3 separate regions of the Homo sapiens genome follow, and all the other regions are linked to region 3. Evidence: promoter capture Hi-C in human tissues and cell types (Jung and others, 2019). All regions are on one chromosome and are shown on one strand. The core of a region is centred on a gene start or on the middle of the fragment in contact, and the rest is flanking DNA. Distances in the headings are between cores, read along the strand shown. Region 1 holds the start of AGMAT (agmatinase (putative)). Region 2 holds the start of LOC124903854 (a long non-coding RNA gene). Region 3 holds the start of CLCNKB (chloride voltage-gated channel Kb).

Region 1 (4,581 bases), core at 417-2,916, 460 kb after region 3:
ATTGACCATTAGGAAACTCTGTCCCGACCTGCAGAGTGGAGGCTCCACTCCAGAGTGGAGGCTGGAGTGGTGTGGGGTTTAATGTGCAACCTTTTTTTTTTTTTTTGACAGAGTCTTGCTGTGTTGCCCAGGCTGGAGTGCAGTGGCGCGATCTTGGCTCACTGCAAACTCCACCCTCCCGGGTTCACGTCATTCTCCCGCCTCAGGCTCCCGAGTAGCTGGTACTACAGGTGCCCACCACCACGCCTGGCTAATTTTTTGTATTTTTAGTAGAGATGGGGTTTCACCATGTTAGCCAAGATGGTCTCATCTCCTGACCTCATGATCCGCCCACCTCGGCCTCCCAAAGTGCTGGGATTACAGGTGTGAGCCACCGCGCCTGGCCTAATGTGCAACCTTTGTGTAGAGGTTGCAACGTAAATGCAAATGTGAGCCTTTTCCATTCAATCTCAACATTTAGAGATCAGAAAAAATAATATATATAATACTGCTAAATGGCTCACATAATTCCATTACAAATCACTTCTTTCTTTCCACGTGTGTTTTTCTTTCCCCTTAGAAATAAAGAGGATGTAACAGGTTCTCTGGCACTGTGACCTTCCTTACAGCTTGCCTGTAAGTCCTTTATTTATTTATTTATTTATTTATTTATTTATTTATTTATTTTTGAGACGGAGTCTTGCTCTGTTGCCCAGGCTGGAGTGCAGTGGCCTGATCTCAGCTCACTGCAAGCTCCGCCTCCCGGGTTCATGCCATTCTCCTGCCTCAGCCTCCCAAGTAGCTGGGACTACAGGCACCTGCCACCATGCCCGGCTAAATTTTTGTACTTTTAGTAGAGATGGGGTTTCACCGTGTTAGCCAGGATGGTCTCGATCTCCTGACCTCGTGATCCGCCCGCCTCAGCCTCCCAAAGTGCTGGGATTACAGGCGTGAGCCACCGCCCCTGGCCTCTAGTCCTTTTTTAACAAGGTTATTTAAAAAGACTTTACTGGCCAGGCGCGATGGCTCACGCTTGTAGTCCCAACTACTCGGGAGGCTGAGGTGAGACGATTGCTTGAGCCCAGCAGTTTGAGGCTGCAGTGAGCTATGATTGTGCCACTGCACTCCAGCCTGAGCAACACAGCAAGACCCTGTCTCAAAATAACTAGCTAGCTAGCTAAGTAGCTAACTAACTTTACTGCTTCTTGAGATTCCTATCCCTGGACATTTAAAAATACATTATTTAAAAAAATGCATTTCCTATTTTTCTGGCTTAGAGAAAGATCATTTTCCTTCATATCTTTCTGGCTTTAAAAATATTACTCTGGGGTGGCTGCTGTGGCTCACACCTGTAATCCCAGCACTTTGGGAGGCCAAGGTGGGAGAATCACTTGAGTCCAGAAGTTGGAGACCAGTCTGGGCAACACAGTGAGACCGTCTCTATAAAAACAAACAATTACTCTGAATGGGAGAAGAGGCTGCTGAAGGCCACAGTGGGGAGCAGGGCGCAGACACCCCTGGCACAGTGCCGGCCAGTGGGCACCCCCAGCCTGACTCTATTTGCCAGAGGCTGAAGTCCAGAGGGGTTGAGGGGAGAGCACGGCAGGTCCTGGGGCCCCTCCCCCGCCTTGATCCTAGGGCGCCCCTGACCTTTGAGCCGGCTCGGGTTCCGGCTCTGGCGCGTGCACACTCGCCTCGCCGTTCGGGACCAGCCAGATCGCGGCGGCCTCGCGGGCGGTTTGGTCGGTGAGGTCTTGGCCGCGCGCGGCAATGCTGAGGCTGCTGGCGTCCGGGTGCGCCCGGGGCCCGGGGCCCGGCGTGGGCGCGCGTCCTGCCGCAGGGCTCTTTCATCCGGGGCGCCGCCAGAGCCGCCAGGCTTCCGACGCGCCCCGGAACCAGCCCCCCAGCCCCGAGTTCGTGGCCCGGCCGGTGGGCGTCTGCTCCATGATGCGCCTGCCGGTGCAGACCTCCCCCGAGGGGCTGGACGCTGCCTTCATCGGGGTGCCCCTGGATACTGGGACCTCCAACCGGCCTGGGGCGAGGTAAGGCCGGAAGGACGGGGGCCGGGTACACGTGGAGGGACTGCTTGCTGGCTGTCGGGCATGGAAAGCACCGAGACAGGCGCCCCTGCTGGCCCCGGGTCGAGTTGGAAGCTGGTGGCCGGCTCCAAAATGCCCCTTATGGTTTGAGATGGTTGATTTACCTGGACCCTCAATAAGCAAACCCCAGGGCTCAACATGGGCGTGGCCTCCCACATCTTAGTGTCATCATTGGTCAAGAAGGGATTTTGGCCGGCCCGGTGGCTCATGCCTGTAATCCCAGCACTTTGGGAGGCTGAGGCGGGCGGATCACGAGGTCAGGAGTTCGAGACCATCCTGACCAACATGGTGAAACTCTGTCTCTACAAAGGTACAAAAAAAAGAAAAAAAAAGCCGGGCATGGTGGCGCGGGCCTGTAATCCCAGCTACTCGGGAGGCTGAGGCAGGAGAATCGCTTGAACCCGGGAGACGGAGGTTGCAGTGAGCTGAGATTGCGCCACTGCGCTCCAGCCTGGGCAACAGAGTGAGACTCCGTCTCAAAAAAAGAAAAAAGAAGGGATTCTGGAGCCTGAACCTTCTCTGTGTCCCCATCCTGGGGCCTTGCTGGGATGGCTGCTGTGGATTCCTCCCCTCTCCTCTCCCCAGCTTACAGTGGCAGGTGACATTGCATTTGAGAGCAGAAACTGGCTGCCCCTTCCCCAAATCTGAAGATGTCACCTGACTCAAGAAATGCTCAAATGAAGGCAATTTTCCTAGGATCAAGTCGGAGGAAGCAAAATTCATCTTCCTAGTTATTGAACGTCAGCAATTTCTGATTCAGCTCAGCAACACTATATCTGACCGTACTGATCTGAATTATGAAAGCCAGCACTTATTAAATGTCTCCTAAGTGCAAGGTGCTTTGCATAGATTACCTCATTTAATTTTTACTACAGTGCAAGGTAAATATTTTACAAATTAGGAAACTGAGACTCAGGTAGATCATGAAATTCACTAATGCCATTTAGTACACTTATTTAGTCTCTTCGATACATAGCCTAGATCGGTGATTCTCAAGTGGGGCGGTTTTGCACTCCGGGGACATTTGGCAGTATCTGGAGGCGTTTTGGGTTGTTACACCTTGGAGGAAGGGTGCTACTGGCACCTAGTGAGTACAGGCCGGGATGCTGCTAAGCATTCCATTATGCAATGCCGCGACACGGAATCATCTGGCCCCAAATTGCTGAGGCTGAGAAGCCCTGGCCTAAGCAAAGCCTGAAATCTCTGCAGATGATGGCTGACAGGATGATTCTTCCTTCTGCAGATTCGGACCTCGCCGCATCCGGGAAGAATCAGTGATGCTTGGGACAGTCAATCCTAGCACGGGGGCCCTCCCCTTCCAGTCCCTCATGGTTGCAGACCTAGGCGATGTGAATGTCAATCTTTACAACCTTCAGGACAGCTGCCGGCGAATTCAAGAGGCCTATGAGAAAATTGTAGCAGCTGGCTGTATTCCTCTGACCTTGGGTAATGTCAGTCTGCAAGAGCCAGAGTAGTTCCCTGCACTCAGGGTTTACTTATCCTGTACTCAGGGGCTTGAGTACAGCTACTTCTCCCCTGCAAGCCACTGCAAATGTGCAGACAGTAGGAAAGAGAGCATTGTAATTCATTTATTTTAATCCCTGGGGAGAGAATATTTCACGTGTGTGTGTATGTGTGTGTGTGAGACAGTCTCACTCTGTTACCCAGACTGGAGTGCAGTGGTGCAATCTCGGCACATTGCAACCTCCACTTCCTGGGTTCAAGCAATTCTCCTGCCTCAGCCTCCCAAGTAGCTGGGATTACAGGCGCCCACCACCATGCCTGGCTAATTTTTGTATTTTTGGTAGAGTCGGGGTTTTGCCATGTTGGCCAGGCTGGTCTTGAACTCCTGACCTCAAGTGATCCGCCCACCTTGGCCTCCCAAAGTGCTGGGGTTACAGGCATGAGCCACCGCGCCTGGCCAAGATGATGTTTCTAATGACTTTATTTGCGAGGAGAACTGCAAAGAGGGTGTTTTTGTCCTGCTCAGGGTCTACATCAACCTATAGGGCAGCTTTCCCCTTATCCTCACCCCTGACCCACTCTCACTTTTTCTCTTGTTCACAAATACTTAAAATGACAGGGATCTTTTCCTAAATATCCAAATTCATTTTTGCCAAGTTAGAGAGCCTAGCCTGCATGGCATAGTGGGAGGAGTGTGGTTTCCCGATGGCATGGTTTGAAGTCTCAGCTGCACTTCTCCCTAGCAATGTTGCTGTATACCGTGCTTGATGCTTCACACCCTCACCTGTAAGATGGGAATGATCACAGTAACACCTACTCACTGCATGATGTGAGGGGCATATAATGAAAGTGCACATGAAATGCCCAGCATCAAGCATGGCATATCTTTTTTTTTTTTCTTTTTTTTTGAGACAGAATTTCACTCTTGTTGCCCAGGCTGGAGTGCAATGGCACGATCTCGGCTCACTGCAACCTCCGCCTCCCGGGTTCAAGCAATTCTGTCTCAGCCTCCTGAATAGCTGGGATTATAGGCGCCCGC
Region 2 (4,740 bases), core at 37-2,536, 440 kb after region 3:
CTGTGCGAGTTTCGGACTCAGCTCAAGCGCTTGGATCCCTACAGCACCTGCGAGGGCTTCTCCTGGCTGCCGCTTTCGTTCTGGCGAATGTTCGGGGTGGCAGCCCCCCTTCGAGGCTTGCACGAGGGCGTCCCGGCATCCGCGATCAAGCGGGCCCTGCTGCTTTTGGGGCTGACCCTGCGGCTGGGGTGCTGCGGCGTCGCTCTGGCTATGCCCGGTCCACTCACGGACTCCCTGCTTTGGCCTGCTCAGCTCAGGAGAACCGGGCCCGACTCCATTTCGGGCAGTGGTGGACAGGGAAACTAGTGCCTGCCTGTAGTGGTCCCAGGCATAGAGCTTCCTGCAGCTACCCTGTGGCTTAGTTCACGTTTTGTTGCTTTGACCACCGATGAGAAATGTGCAGTAGGGACCCTGTAGGAGTCTGCTTACCCGAAATGGTTTCTGTCTTGAATAGTTGTTGAGTGAAAGGTAACGTGTTTCGATTAAATATATATGTGTGTGTGTGTGTGTATTCCCAGAAGTGAAAAGACTTAAATATTCTTTTTTTTTTTTTTTTGAAATGGAGTCTCGCTCTGTCGCCCAGGTTGGAGTGCAGTGGCGCGGTCTCGGCTCACTGCAACCTCTGCCTCCCGGGTTCTCTGCCTCAGTCTCCCAGTAGCTGGGATTACAGGCGCCCACCACCACGCCTAGCTAATTTTTTTTTTTTTTTTTTTTTTTTTTTTTTTTTTTTAGTAGAGACGGGGTTTCACCATCTTGGCCAGGCTAGTCTTGAACTCCTGACCTCGTGATCCACCCACCTCGGCCTCCCAAAGTGCTGGAATTACAGGTGTGAGCCACTGCGCCTGGCCTAGGATTTTCAATCTAGAAACGGTCGTGGAGTGTCTGGGACTTGTATGTAGCTCGCTGTTTACTAGAGGGTTTGGTATTTCACGTGTATTTAATTTATATTTGGATTGGATTTTACTTACTTTTCTAATCAGCCTGTGAACTAAAGTGAACAAACAGGTTTCAGTGCCCTTTGTTTTCAGACATAAGGAAACATGACCGGAGAAATTATAGTCATGCATTGTTTAACAGAGATATGAGAAATGCATCTTAGGTGAATCTATCATTGGAATATCATAGAGTTTTTTTGTTTGTTTGTTTTGTTTTTGAGACAGGGTCTTGCTGTGTCGCTCAGGCTGCAGTGCAGTGGTGCCATGACAGCTCGCTGCAACCTCGATCTGCTGTGATACTTCTGCCTCAGCCTCCTGAGTAGCTGGGACTGCAGGCCTGCATCACCATGCCAGACTAATTTTTTAAAATTAAATTATATATTTTTGTATATTTTAATTTTCTTTTTATAGAGAAAGGGTCTTGCTATGTTTCTCAGGCTGGTCTCGAACTCCTGGTCTCAAGCAATCCACCTGCCTCAGCCCCCCAAAGTGCTGGGATTACAGGCCTGAGCTACCATGTCTAGACCACAGCCGGCTAATTTTAATTTTTTTTGTATAGACAGGGTTTCTCCCTCTGTTGCCCAGTCTGGTCTCCAACTTCTGGGCTCAAGCAGTCTTCCTGCCTTGACCTTCTAAAGTGTTGGAATTACAGGCATGAGCCACTGAGTCCTGCCCATAGAGTGTACTTACGCAAACCTAGATAGTATAGCCTACTGCACACCTAGGCTATATGATACAGCCTACTGCTCCTACGCTACAAATCTCTACAGCATGTTACTGTACTGTATACTGTAGGCAATTGTAACACAATGGTTGGTATTTTTGTATCTAAACATAGAAAGGGTACACTAAAAATGGTACAATAAAAATACAATATTGTAATCTGATGGAACCACTGTCTTATATGCAGTCTGTTGTTGACTAAAGATCATGTGACATGTGACTGTATTTGCTCAATGTATTGCATGGAGAGGGCCAGTGCTTCTCAAATGTGTGTAGTAACCACTTAGCAATCTTTTGTTTTTTTAAGACGGAGTCTCACTCTGTCACCCACGCTGGAGTGCAGTGGTGCGATCTTGGCTCACTGCAACCTCTGCCCCCCGGGTTCAAGCAATTCTCCTGCCTCAGCCTCCTGAGTAGCTGGGATTTCAGGCGCACACCACCACGCCCGGCTAATTTTTGTATTTTTAGTAGAGACGGGGTTTCACCACCTTGGCCAGGCTGGTCTTGAACTCCTGACCTCGTGATCCACCCCCCTCGGCCTCCCATAGTGCTGGGATTACAGGCGTGAGCCACCGCGCCCGGCCAGGAACCTTGTTAAACTGTATATTCTGATTCATTAGGTCTGGAGCAGGTCCTGAGAATTTCTGCAGTTCTGACAAGCTCCCAGGTGTATATGATTCTGCTGGTGTGATGCACGCCTCAAATAGCAGTAGCCCTAAGTGACACGGTTAATAGCACAATTGCCTCCTTTCCATATCTGATTCTTATGCCCAAACAACAATTTCTTAATATTTATGAAATTTCAGTTACATATGAAGAGAAAGTCATAGGATGGAAATGACAAATAGCGTTGCCAAGATAGAATTTTTATTAAGGATTCATTTTGCTTATTTTATTACTTGAAAATCTGAGAATTCACAATATTGGAAATAATGGGCTTAAAAATATCAAGCTGGCTGGGTGTGGTAGCTCGAGCCTGTAATCCCAGCACTTGGGAGGCCGAGGCGGGGGGATCACCTGAGGTCAGCAGTTTGAGACCAGCCTGGCCAACATGGTGAAACCCCATCTCTACTAAAAATACAAAAATTAGCCAGGCATGGTGGTGGGCGCCTGTAATCCCAACTTCTCGGGAGGCTGAGGCAGGAGAATTGCTTGAACCCACGAGGCGGGGTTTGCAGTGAGCCAAGATGGCACCACTGCACTCCAGCTTGGGCCACAAGAGCAAAACTCCATCTCGAAAAAAAAAAAAGTATCCAGCGACACGGTAGCTCACGCCTGTAATCCCAGCACTTTGGCTGGTCAAGGCAGGTGGATCACGAGGTCAGGAGTTCAAGAACAGCCTGGCCAAGATGGTGAAACCCCATCTCTAATAAAAACGACAAAAATTAGCTGGGCACAGTGGCAGGCACCTGTAATCCTAGCTACTCGGGAGGCTGAGGCAGGAGAATCGCATGAACCTGGGCGGCAGATGTTGCAGTGAGCCGAGATTGCGCCACTGAACTCCAGCCTGGGCGACAGAGAGACTCCATCTCAAAAGAAAAAAAAAAAGTATTAAGCTTTTTGTTGTTAGAAAGTCTTTAACTGCTGGGCGTTGTGGCTCACGCCGGTAATCCCAGCACTTTGGGAGGCCAAGGCAGGCGAATCACCTGAGGTCGGAAGTTCAAGACCAGCCTGACCAACATGGAGAAACCCCATCTCTACTAAAATTACAAAATGAGCTGGGCGTGGAGGCACATGCCTGTAATCCCAGCTACTCGGGAGGCTGAGGCAGGAGAATCACTTGAATCCCGGAGGTGGAGGTTGCAGTGAGCGGACATCATGCCACTGCACTCCAGCCTGGACAACAGAGTGAGACTGTGTCTCAAAAAAAAAAAAAAAAAAAAAAGATTTGTTAGGCAGGACCAGAGCAATGCCAACTCTAGGGCTAATTATTCCCCTGAGGCAAGACCTTCATAAGTACTCTTTCCAATGCCCCACACATTACGAGTTTTTCCAATCTGGATCATAGGAGTAGGCACTATTCCTTCTAATCCAGGGGTCCCAGTCTCCAGGCCGCGGACTAGTACCAGTTGGTGGTCTGTTAAGAGCCGGGCCGCATAGCAGGAGGTGAGTGGCAGGCGAGCGAGCATTACTGCCTGAGTTCTGTCTCCAGTCAGATCAGCAGCAGTATTCCATTCTCATAGCAGCACAAACCCTATTGTGAACTGTGCACGTGAGGGATCTAGGTTGCCCACTCCTTATGAGAATCTAACGAACGTCTGATGAACTGAGGTGGAAGAGTTTCATCCCGAAACTCCAAAAAGGTTAGGAATCGCTGTAGTAATCCTTTTACGTGGTTCTTTCCCCAGCCTTGTGTAGTTTTCTTACATATGTATCCTGAACAGTACTCTGCTGAATGCTAGAGGCGGGGACCTTTTACAGATCTCTGGGGTTCTGTCTGAACAACTCTCTTTCTCTGGTACTCTGTCCTTTCCATCTGGCTACCTTGGTCTCCCTGGACTCAGCTCTGTCTCCTCAGCTCCGGGATTCCACCAGGCCCTTCCTCACTTTGCTCTTCTTGCAGTAGAGCCTGGAAACCCTCAAGGCAGTAAGCTGGAGCAATAATAGGGCTCACTTCACTTGTACTTTTTTTTTTTTGAGACGGAGTCTGGCACTGTTGCCCAGGCTGGAGTGCAGTGGCGCGATCTCAGCTCACTGCCACCTCCACCTCCAGGGTTCAAGCGATTCTTCTGCCTCAGCCTCCCGAGTAGCTGGGACTACAGGCGTGTACCACCACACCCGGCTAATTTTTGTATTTTTAGTAGAGACGGGGTTTCACCATATTGGCCAGACTGGTCTCGGACTCCTGTCCTCGTGATCCGCCCGCCTCGGGCTCCGAAAGTGCTGGGATTACCGGCGTGAGCCACCGCGCCCAGCCATTTGTACTTTTTTCAGGGATTTCTGTCCTTTGTTGCGTGATATCCGGTGTCTTAAAGACCATTTGTTACATTTTGGGGATCCGTATTTTGGTTGTTTATGTGGGAAAGTAAATCTAGCCCCTGTTTATCTTCAGTTCTGGAAGTGGAAGTCCAAATATCACACC
Region 3 (4,697 bases), core at 1,290-3,789:
CACTCAGCCTCTCTGAGCCTCAGTTTCCCCATCTGCCAAGTGGGCTCGTGATGGGCTCTTCCTCACAGGCTCATTGAAGACTAAAGACGTTAAAGACTAAAGGGCCACTGAGAACTACATGACACAGGTGTGAAGCACCAAACACCGTAACACCATAGTAGGTGCTGCTTCTGGCAGCTGAGGGTCTCCAGAGAAAGTGTCTTAGACCCTTCCTGCCCACACCCCCTCTTCCAGGGAGGCCTCAGGGTGGAGGCAGGCTGCTGAGGGATGGGGTGGGATGGGGAGGAAGCACCAAGCTTAGTGTTATAGGGAAGTGCCCCCACTCTGCCCCAGGGCATGGAGGAGGGAAGGAGAAGAAACAGGGTGGCTGGAAGAGGAGGCAGAGAGCTCAGAGGAGGAAGAGCTCTTGGGAACATTCAGGCCTCTCTCCCTTGTGCAAATGAGATGACTGAGGCCCAGAGAGGGGCAGGAGCCTGCCCAGGATCACAGAGCAAGTCAGGAGTAAAGCCAGGACCAGATCCCCACCCAGAGCACCCCCCCCAACCTCCGCTGCACCTGGCGACATCCACCTGGCATCCCCAGAGAGAGCTCAGAATCCCTTGGCCCAGAGCAGCACCTGCCATGGAGGGGTTACCTCGGACCACACTCTCAACAGCCAAGTCCATGGCACAGCTGACCAGGGCCATGAGCACCCCGAGGGTCATCAGGAAGTACCAGTCCTCGCCCAGGCGGAAGAGCTTCTGCTTCAGCCACTCCAGGCCACCTGGGGCAGGGCATGGGGTCACGGCACAGGGTGGGGCAGGAGGCACAGACAGTCCCATCCTTGGAGGCCTGCTGGGCTTCAGGCAGAGAGGCTGGGGCAGGGGGATGGAGCTTGGTGGTATACTCTGGGGTAGTCCCGAGGGGGCCCTGCCTCACATAAGTGGCCGGGCAGGATTTGTGGGAGGTGACAGTGGTGACACAGTGGGTGCCAGGACTGCTGCCCCTACCAGAAAGCCGTTGACCTGCCGACCCTCCGCATCCCTGCCTGTACTGGGAGGTTCCTGGGGGACAGGGAGTATGGAGGGGGCTGGCAGCTACAGCTTTCACCTGCATCCCCGCAGAGTCCATAGCTTAGAGAGCACCAGGATCTAGCAGACTCCTGCGTGTCCCAGGACCTGTGGCGCCAGGTATCCTCTGGGTCCCCAGCAATGCTCCTGGCCCACTGGCTGCTAGCCCAGCCTGGGAGCTGGCCCTCACTGGCTGTGGGCACCAGCCCCTGGGGTTGCAGTCAGCCTCCTTCTGTGGTCCCTACTTGCTCTGCCCCGTAGCTGAGGGGACAGTCAGGTCTCAAAGTGAACAAAGCACATGGGGCTCCAAGGAAAGGTGCCAAGTGTAGGCTGCCCCAGCCCCTTGCTGTGGCCCCAGCTGTCCCAGCAGCTAACCCCCACGTCCCCTCATTGGCACAGGTAGGTGAGGGAGAGGCCTGGGTGGAAGATGGGCACAGTGACCAGGCCTTGGGCTGTATCTCCCGAAAGGCAGAGGGCAGATGCCCGGCCCATCTGACCCACAGACAGCTGGACAGACAGACCCCTTCCCTCCCTGCCACCCAGGAGACTTTGGGCAGTCATGTCCTGGACAAATGCCAGGAGGAGGGTGGTTCCTGGGCAGGGAGGTGGGGTGGGAGCTGGGCAGGAATGATGTCCTGAGTGGTCCTCCAGGGGGAAGGGAAGAGGACCTGGCTCTCACCTCGGATGCCTCGGCGGATGCGGGGACAGGGGCCCCACAGCTCCTGCAGAGTCACAGGGTTCCCTGAGGAGCCTTCACGCAGCCCCACAAACTCCTCCATCAGGCCCCTGGAGAAGCGGATAGAGGGAGGGACCGCGGTGAGCTGCTGCACGTCCTCGCACTGCCTCTAGGCCCTTCCAGTGCTCTCCCCACCCATGAAGAGGAAAGATTGTGCGTGTGTGTGTGTGTGTGTGTGTATGTGAAGTTATCACACTAGGTCTGTGTGTGCCTTCATCCCTGAGTTTCCGTCACTGAGGGTGTGTGCCTGTGTGTGTCATTGTGTGGGATGGGGGTGGGATTCCTAGGTGTCCCCCTGTGTCCAGCAGCAGACTGGGCACAGGCCGGAGCCCAAGCCCTGCTCAGAGCCCCTTCCCCTTCGGTGGCAGCCGCTCCCACCCTCCTGGGTCACTTGGCGCTTCCACTGCTGGGAGCAGTCTCTGCCCAGGGCTGTGACACTCTCACTGCAGAGTCCCATGGATGGCTCTGACTCTCCCTGTCCACCTATGAGCACCCCTGACCCCAGCTCAGGCCACAGAGGCAGCAAAACCCCAGGCCCAGAAGAAGATCCCACCAGGGCCAAAGTGAGGTGCTGGCTCCTGCCCTTACCACCCCCCCCCCCCCGCCCTGCCTGTCTGGCCCTGGCAGGCCCCAGCATCTTGCAGCGACCCCTCACCTGTCAGTCCTCCTGCTGTGGCTGAGCTGGCCCTCCTCTCACAGAGCCTCCAGCTCCCCTGCACCTGGACAGGTGTGTGTTCCAACAATCAACATCCTCCCCCCTTTCCCGCCTGGGCCCAGGGTTTATGGCGAACACTTAGAATGTCCTTGAAAACCGATCAGAACTGCCCAGGCCGGAGCAGAGCAGAGCAGAGCTGCCAACAGGGAGGGGAACAGGAGCCTCCCCACCCACCATAGCTGCACAGAGGGTGGTGCCCAGCTGTACTCAGGCTCCTGGGTGCTGCTGGACGGGGGCTGGGAAGGGGGAGCTCACGCACACAGCAGGACAGAGAGGGGTCATCTGCCAAGGCTGAGGCTCAGGGTCCAGGGGTCTCAGAGCTGGACATGGAAGGTTTGGAAAAGCACAGAGGGAGAGGGGAGGAGGCTGGGCAGAGAAGGAGAAAGCAGGCCGGCAAAGGTGAGTGGGGCCAGCATGACCACAGCCTCCCTGTGTGCCAGGTAGAGAGTCAGCCTTCCCCTAGATTAATTACCCTGAGTGCCCACGGAAATCCCACGAGGCAGGCAGCGTGATCCCGTTGTAGAGAAATGGTGTCTCAGGGAGGTGGGGCTGCCCGTCTAAGATCACGGAGGCCGAGGCAGCGCCAGGATTCCCAGCCCAGGTTTGCCTGGCTCCAAAGCCCGCAGGCTGTGCCACACGGTCCCATCCTGATGACCCATCTTGTCCAGGGCTGGCGAGGAGGCCGACACCTGGGGCAAGGCAGTGAATTGGGGTCAGGAACTCAGACTTGATCCTGTGTCCAGACCCTCCAGGCTCAGGAAATGCCTCTCAAAGCACACGTCCAAGGGCCAGCGGCTCTGGTGGGGACTTCTGGGTAATTCCACAGAGTTTGTCCCACCCCAACAGAGGATGGCAGCACAGGTGTGAGGGGACATGGCGAGGAACAAGCACGTGCCGTGTGCCTGCAACGTGTCAGAAGCGTCACATCCGCAGCTCAAGTCCTCCTCCCCACACCCTGTGAATGGGGAGAGCCTCGCCATTTTGTAGATGGTCAGAGAGGTGAGTCACTCATCCAAGGTCACACAGCAGAGGCTGAACCCAGCCCCACACTGTGCAGCTCTTCCCCTGCCCAAAGCTCCTCCAGCTCCTGAGGCTGAACCAGGGCAATGGTTTGGGCACAGAACAGAAGAGTTGTGTCTGATGCCACTTTGGGGCAAGATGTTGGGGGCAATTGCCTCCAGTCCTACCCAGACAAAGCCACTCTCTGAATAACATGATGGCCCTTGGATGATTGTTAAAATCTGGGACCCTGGGCCACCCTTTGCCCCTAGATGCCAGGCAAGTCAAATCAAAATTGAAGGTGTGTGTTGTGGGAGGTGGGATGGGGGTTGCCGCTCTGCATGAACCCGAGCCCACCTTCATCTTGGCCACCCTGACCTGTTGACTCTGCACAGCACCAGAACTGGCTGCCCTGTCAACATCCGGATCCCCAGTGTCTGGTCTGGGGCAGCTGCTGGCTACTGTCCCACAGCCGGCACTGCATGTCCACATCCACCCTCACCCCCCAGCCCTGTGTGCCCCAGGAGGCTGAGAAGAGGGCAGCCAGGGGGCGCAGGACCCAATGCAGGTCCCTCCCAAACCCACTGCCTCCACATCAGCCCTAATTTCTCCCCTTCCATATTAGTCGCCTGGCAGCAGTAGCGGGGGCTCAGTAGAGAGACAGCAGGGGAGAACCCAGGGCGGCTCTGTGACCCTAACACCATCACCATCCGGAGCCTCTGTTTTCCTCCTCTGTCAAATGAGCTGAGCCTGAGACCTGGGTCTCTGTCTCATGACAGTGGGGGTCGGGTGCCCAGGACCTGCACAGCCCCCTCGCCTCAGAGCAGCTGAGGACGGGATGGGGGACAGGGCACGCTGAAAGAGACAGGGCAGGTATGGGTGGGAGCGGGGCGGTACAGAGAACCCACATTCAGAGGTCACTGAGTCCCCACACTACTTTGCATCCTGGCAGGTGACATGAAGCAGGGTCCCCTGCCCTGCTTTTATTCCAATGGTTACACCCCCACTGCCAGGTGCCTAGGAGGGGAGGGAGGCTCTGGTTATTCCTGGCTTCCCAGAGGAACTGTGGGGACAGCTGGGGAGCTAGCAGACCCCCCATCTCCCACCCCTTCCCAAGACAGAGGCCTTACCAGCTCACCCCCACAGCCCCTTCCCATGCCTTACCTGGTCCCACTGTCTTCAGTGAGAGGGGAAGGGA

What was found. Contacts are between HindIII fragments. The study calls those that stand out against the background at their distance.
Region 1: a contact is called between the fragment with the promoter of AGMAT here and the fragment with the promoter of CLCNKB in region 3, in 1 of the 25 tissues and cell types used here (spleen).
Region 2: a contact is called between a fragment that was not itself captured here and the fragment with the promoter of CLCNKB in region 3, in 1 of the 25 tissues and cell types used here (spleen).

The regions. Positions count from the first base shown.
Region 1 is chr1:15,582,136-15,586,716 of GRCh38, reverse strand. AGMAT (agmatinase (putative)) reads left to right here and starts at 1,666. Exons shown (of 7, transcript NM_024758.5): 1 at 1,666-2,021; 2 at 3,322-3,524. The coding sequence starts at 1,750. RefSeq lists a silencer at 1,684-2,013 and an enhancer at 2,124-2,173. The HindIII fragment of the contact is 10,612 bases long and covers 1-4,581 here.
Region 2 is chr1:15,598,817-15,603,556 of GRCh38, reverse strand. LOC124903854 (a long non-coding RNA gene) reads left to right here and starts at 14. Exons shown (of 3, transcript XR_007065483.1): 1 at 14-468. The HindIII fragment of the contact is 5,748 bases long and covers 1-4,160 here.
Region 3 is chr1:16,041,624-16,046,320 of GRCh38, reverse strand. It overlaps CLCNKB (chloride voltage-gated channel Kb), which reads right to left and starts at 2,539. Exons shown (of 20, transcript NM_000085.5): 1 at 2,441-2,539; 2 at 1,729-1,835; 3 at 635-763. The coding sequence starts at 1,828. The HindIII fragment of the contact is 23,589 bases long and covers 1-4,697 here.